Linked DNA regions of Homo sapiens: region 1 is linked to region 2. Evidence: promoter capture Hi-C in 16 types of primary human blood cells and fetal thymus (Javierre and others, 2016). All regions are on one chromosome and are shown on one strand. The core of a region is centred on a gene start or on the middle of the fragment in contact, and the rest is flanking DNA. Distances in the headings are between cores, read along the strand shown. Region 1 holds the start of SLC7A1 (solute carrier family 7 member 1). Region 2 holds the start of USPL1 (ubiquitin specific peptidase like 1).

What was found. Contacts are between HindIII fragments. The CHiCAGO score rates a contact against its expected background, and 5 or more counts as called.
Region 1: the fragment with the promoter of SLC7A1 here is called in contact with the fragment with the promoter of USPL1 in region 2 in 1 of 17 cell types (naive CD4 T cells); the score reaches 5.8 in naive CD4 T cells.

Annotation. Positions count from the first base shown.
Region 1 is chr13:29,593,953-29,596,971 of GRCh38, reverse strand. It overlaps SLC7A1 (solute carrier family 7 member 1), which reads left to right and starts at 1,284. Exons shown (of 13, transcript NM_003045.5): 1 at 1,284-1,556. RefSeq lists silencers at 918-2,157, 2,326-2,620 and an enhancer at 2,268-2,397. The HindIII fragment of the contact is 14,376 bases long and covers 549-3,019 here.
Region 2 is chr13:30,616,667-30,619,617 of GRCh38, reverse strand. USPL1 (ubiquitin specific peptidase like 1) reads right to left here and starts at 1,698. Exons shown (of 9, transcript NM_005800.5): 1 at 1,562-1,698. It also overlaps a transcript of HMGB1 not described here. RefSeq lists enhancers at 1,621-1,670, 1,691-2,020, 2,071-2,210, 2,231-2,300. The HindIII fragment of the contact is 4,577 bases long and covers 1-2,951 here.

The DNA.
Region 1 (3,019 bases), core at 35-2,534, 1.0 Mb after region 2:
AGGCAGGAGGATGGCTTGAGCCTGGGAATTTGAAGTTCCAGTGAGCTATGATTGTACCGCTGCATTCCAGCCTGGGTGACAGAGTGAGACCCCTGTCTCTAAAAAACAAACAAATGACAACAGCAACAACAACAGAACACTTTTTCTGAAGCTAGCACCATGCAGTTATGTACTTTATAAATTGCTAGTCTAATTCCAAGGGAATAGTTCAGCAGCTGATATTTGAGAAGGACCTGTAGAAAGGATTCAAAGACCACGGACACCGTCCACTGTTTTTCTGTTTTCCTATAAGATAGAAGAAGGATGGCATTATTAATTTATGCCCTGTTTACCTATCCCAAGTCCCAGATCACTGGATCTTTAAAGATTATGATTCTCGCTTGGCTTTTGGTACAAAAGGAGACAAGGAGGGAGCTTAAAAGGTGAGCACGGTGTGATTCAGGACTGAAGCTTCTGCCACTTCCTGGGGGGTAACTGCAAAAGTGAGCCGTTCTGACTAGCCGTTTGTGCATTTGCCACTGCCAAGGGGGCACAGGTAGATTCAAGCTTTGGGGCTCTTCTGACAACTGGCAAGGATAAGGTATTAGCAAGGGCAAAGGAATAGTAATAAAATAATCCAATAACAAAGACATGAAGATTTATAATAATTTTTAGGCCGGTGCAGTGTTTCAGGACTGTAATCCTAGGGCGCTTTGGGAGGCCCAGGCGGGAGGATCGCTTGAGGCCAGGATTTCGAGGTTAAGGTGAACTGCGCTCCAGCCTGGGCAATAGAGTAACACCCTGTCTCTAAAATGAAAAGAAAACAGTTTAAACCTTTTAAGTGCATACCAAATCTTTTATTTTGGAGAAGGAAAACTGGTCTCGAGTTCCGTGTGAGCTCCCTGGGGCCCGCCGGGAGGGGGTTGGCACGGCCGGACCTGCAGCACTAGTTCTGGCCAGGGCGCTGTGGGATCTGCAGGGGACCACAGGATGCTGTGGCGCGGTGCGCTCAGATTGGCGGAGAAACGGCCACACGCCTACGGAGCTACTGAGAAGGCGAGCGGAGGCGCAGCCCGCCCGCCCGCCGCGGGAACCCCAGGTTGGGGCGCTGGGCGCGCGAAGACTCAGCCGCCCCGCCCACCAAGGGCGCGTCGGTCCCCGGCCGCAGCCTCTGGGCTGGCAGCCGCCGCCGCGCCGCGCTCCCATTGGTGCCCGGCGGTGACGCGGCCGAGCGGGCCGGGGCTGCCTGGTCCGGGGGCGGGCGTGGGGCGCGGGGCGCGGAGCGCGAGGGGCGGGGGCCGGGCGCACTGCTGATGAAACCTGGCGCCGGAACCCGCCAGCCCTCGGCGCCCATTCAGTCCGCGCAGGCAGGTGTGAGCAGCGGGTCAACTACCTGGCAGGCGCGCACGCGGCCGCGGGCTCCCGCTAACCGCAGCCTCCACTCCTCTCCCCGCGCGCCGCGCCCCCGCCCCGCCCCGCCCCGCCCGGTCTCGCCGGCCGAGCGTCCGTTGGTCCTTGAGCGCGTCCGACAGTCTGTCTGTTCGCGATCCTGCCGGAGCCCCGCCGCCGCCGGCTTGGTGAGTGCCCGGCCCCGCCAACGCAGGGGGCAGCTCCTTGGGCCCGGGTCATCACGGAGGGGGCCCTGGCGCCGCGTGGGGCCGCGGCAGGGCGGCGCGGGAGTGGCGAGGGCCCCCGCGCCGGGAACGCTGCCATCCTCTGGGAAGGGCCAGGACCAGGGCCGGGCGGGCCCCGGAGTGGGCGAGCGGGGCTGGTGCCCATGCGACTGTCGCCTCCACGGAGTCCATTTTGGCTCCCTGAAACCGCGGCGTGGTGCATGATGCAACACCGAGTGAGTAAGCGTGGGCGATCTGGCGATGCCCGCTCCGCGCGCCTGTCCGGGGACCCGCGCGCCGCTACGCACGGGGTGGTCGGGGTGCGTAGGCGGGCGGCGGGCACGGGGGCCAGACTGGGAGGCACACGGAGCCCGCCGGCGGCGAGGAGACCTTCCCTTACATGGCGCGGTGCAGAGCACCCCGCCCCGCCACGAGGTCCGGGGATGTGTCATCAGCCGTGGGTGGGGACTCTGCCCGGCCGCCCGGAGGGTGGTCCCGCGGCAGGTGGCCGGCCCAGGGACTCTGCTGCCATCCCCGCCCGGTGGCCGCCCTGACCTAGGGCGCCTGGCTCTCCGCTTGTCCCTAGAACCCGGGACGCGCCGCCTGCACCTCTCGTCTGGGTCCCCAAGATTGCTTTGAGGAAGTCTCCCCTAGGTGGGCTTCCTTGTGACCCAGTGTGGCCTGGAAAGGCCGGGTTCCTCAAGCCCTCCACATGGTTTGGAATGAGAGGAAGTTCTTCCGCCTTTAGCAAGACACCGTATTCTCAGGGTGTTCCTTTCTGCGTAGTAGAAAACTTCCCAGGCATGGGCAGGTCAGAGTCATTCTAAAACCTGCGCGTACACAGAGCGGCAGCTGCACTGTAGTACTACAACAGCCTGCTGGTTCAGCTCCTGACCCTTTCCAGGGGATGGGGGAACCAGACAGCAGTTGTGTTTGACTTGTGTGACTAGGATAGTCAGACATGTGCCTTCAGGAAAAAAATAAATAAATAACCTACATTTCCCAATACTCACGTCATCACCGCCATGCCCTCATGTGTTGGGTTTTAGTCCAGACATAGTTACCAGATGGTTGAGATTTCAATCCCAGGTGTATCTCCCTAAAGAATGTGCCTTTTATCTTACTTACATTCGACTAGTAGAATTGTGTATGTCGGCCTCTGGCCGAATGCCCTAATTGTATTTAATTCGAATTATAATTTATCTGGGATTTTTCCTAACATTTCTTGCCCTTTATGTTTGGTTCAGATAATAGGAAACCATGATACATTTATTCCTCTGGTATTTTTAGTTGATCTCAGTGGAAATTACCATGATTTTTATATGAACACACCCTCCTGTTATTAAAACAAAAGGTCTTATTTAAGTCACACGAACAGAATAGAAACTTAGGGGAAAGGTCAACAATAGATTAAAATGGTTTTAAAA
Region 2 (2,951 bases), core at 449-2,948:
TTTGGTGCTAATTTTATACTTCATTCTGCGTAGAGAAGCAGTACACGTCGTATCATTCTGCGGTACTCTCAAATGGGAAACTAGTAGGCTATGTACCTTGAATAAACTGTTTTTGATGAAAATTTCCATCTACCTGAGGGAACCTAGAAAACTTTTTCAAATCAAACGGTTTTCTCTTTGTCTCTCTCAATTATAAAATATAAAGAGTCTCCAAATCTGCTCTCCTGATTCCATCACCCAACATTTCAGCGGGAAAAACCAGATAGGTTGGTGGTTGAAATCCCGAATATATAGAATCCCCCAAAAGAAAATTCATTTAATACCAGAGGTTTATTTGTCCATATGAGGGACATAAAAAAAATACCAGAGGTGGGCTCCCCAGTTCTTCTTCCAAATACAATTCACTTTGACTTACATACAAAATCCCGGGGGGGATTTTACAACTTAATTTGACCCTAAGTAACTGCTCTTCCTCCCTTCAAAAACAATCTGCTCCTCCTTCCCATATCTCACTTAAATGTGGGCGTCTCCATCCTTCCAAACACACAGACTAGAAAGTCTTGAGTTGTTCCCTATTCTTTATTTCCCTCTTCGCACAGTAAGTCACCAAATTCTGTGGACAGTTCTTTGGAAAGGTCTCAAATCTCTACCTCTTTCCCTTCCATATCACTGTCAAAATGATGCCTCTACAAGTCTGAGCCTGTCAATGCTTAGTTTAAAATTCTCTATTTACTCTAGCCTGATTACAGCAAACTCCGTCCAAACAGCCCAATATAACCTAAAGGTAGTATTATGACCTAAAGCTCATTGTACTGTGAAACCAACCTAGCTTTCCAGTTCTGTCTTCCTCAACTCTACTTCACCCCCAGCATCTTTCTTCTAACATCCCCTTTTCATACTTCTGTGAACCACTTATACTCCAGAAGCCTTAATGTGAATTATTAGCCCAGCATGAACCCAGTTAGATAGCACAATGAACGTGTCAAGGTGGCCCTGGGAATCGCAAAAAGTATTCAATTAAACTTAATTCACACTCCTGTGTGCAAAATGGAGAAACCCAGGGAAACAGCTGTTCGAAGAGGGGGCCTTAAACCCACCCATTTGAGCTCGCCCTCCGAGAGCGAGTAGGCTCGGCACGTGAACTGTCAAAAGCGAGGCCACAACCGACCTGGAAGCCGAGGAACAGGGTCAGCTTTCTGCACCCAGCCCTGTCAGGTACCAAACCCAACTGTCTTGAATCAGAGACGAACAGGACCAAAGGAGGTGAGTTTCAACACCCAAACTAAGAAGCCGAAGGAGGCGCAGGGTCCGTTAACCCTGCCCATCTCCACGCTCCTTGGAAAACGAAAACAAACTCTGGTTTCTCTTCAGCGTTCACCTCTCTGCGCCCAAACGGATCTGTAAGTCCAACTCTATACCTTAATCATCAACCTTTCCCACTTGAACCCCGTCCCAGCCCAGCCCATCCTTTCAGCGCGCCGACTACCCCATAGGTCATCCCAGCTCTGTCTCTTTTCCCAATTTCGAGAGCGGAAAGAAACCCCTCCCTCTTCTCCCTTACCTGCCGCGGGCACTCCCCTTCTTGGTACCGGGTCGATCGGAACTCCTGTTCCAGCTTGATCTCCACCCTAGTTGCAACGTTCAACCCACGTTCCCCTCGGACTGCTCCTCCCCCACTCGCGTCTCCACTAGGAAGGCGGCTTCCGGCTTGAGTCCGCGGCAAAAGAGTCCTCCTTCCTGCTGCACGCTGGGCCTGAAAGGACGGTGGCGTGGCGGGGAAGGTGAAGACGTGAGCACTTCCGGTCGCCCTCCGCAGAGGCGTGGCTGTCCGCCCTGTGGCCGCAGACGCAGTTGCGACTGCGGCGACGAGGAGGGGCGGGGCCGGTGGCTGCTGAGCCCGCCATGTGTGAGTGGCTGGGTTTGGGGAGGCGACGTTTCTGGAAGCTGCTGGAAAGCGCCCGAGTGGCGGAGGTGGCGCCAGCGGCCAGGGGGTGGGGCGTGATTAAAACTAGTGCGCGGCTTTCTGCGGAGGGATTACGCTGACGAAAGAGACCTGCTTGCGCGTCGCTGTTCCGTGGTCCGCGCGAGCGTGGTCGGGAGCCGCTGGTTCCTGGGGTGACCCGCGGAGGTGGGAGAGGGAAGGGCTTCCGAAGCCGGCGGGGGTGCCATGGACCCTCTCCGCCGGCGCGGCCTTCACAGCTGGGCCGCGCCGGGCATCCGTAGTCCGCTCTCCCAAAGCCTCGGTGGAGCTGAAGCTGCCACAGAGTGCATGTTCACAAAGGGTCATCACACACGGAGCTGCCCCTCCCTGTCTCCCTAGAGCCCATCTTCGAGGCCAGGGGCTTTTCTACCAGGATTCTGGGGTGTTTCTCCTCCTTTCCTCCCTCCCAGATCTTCTCACGGTAAGGGGAGCAGCGAAAGCGCAGGGACTTTGCATTCCACGACCCGTTCTGACTAGTCAACAGCCGATCTGTCCCTGCTGCTCTAATTCCAGCTGCCCTGCCTTGTTTTAACTTCAGAGAAAGGGGGAGTTCTCATTTGATAAGTTTAAGCCTTTGCTTTCGTAGGAAGGTCATGTGGCTTAAGGGACATCGTGACCGCGTATGCTATTTCTGCCTGTGCATTCTAAATCTTGGGGGCAGCATATTCCAGAAGTCCTTTTGGTCGATTGGTTCTGTGTCCTAGGATAACAATTTGTAGTTTCTGACCATTTCTTTACAGAAAAACCACAATTGGTATTTTGGACTGCGGGGTTTTTTAGTGGTCTCAAACTAAATGATTATATTCTGGAATAATGCTGACAATTTGGATAGGGTGGTGTGGAGGAAACAAGTCTCGTGTAGAAGAAATTATTTAGTAAAAAGGATTTTAGTTTTTGGTACTTCTGAATGCAAATGGCCAAGGAATCCAGCAGTTTGTTGGGGTTTCTCCAGACAAAAATAGGCTGGTTA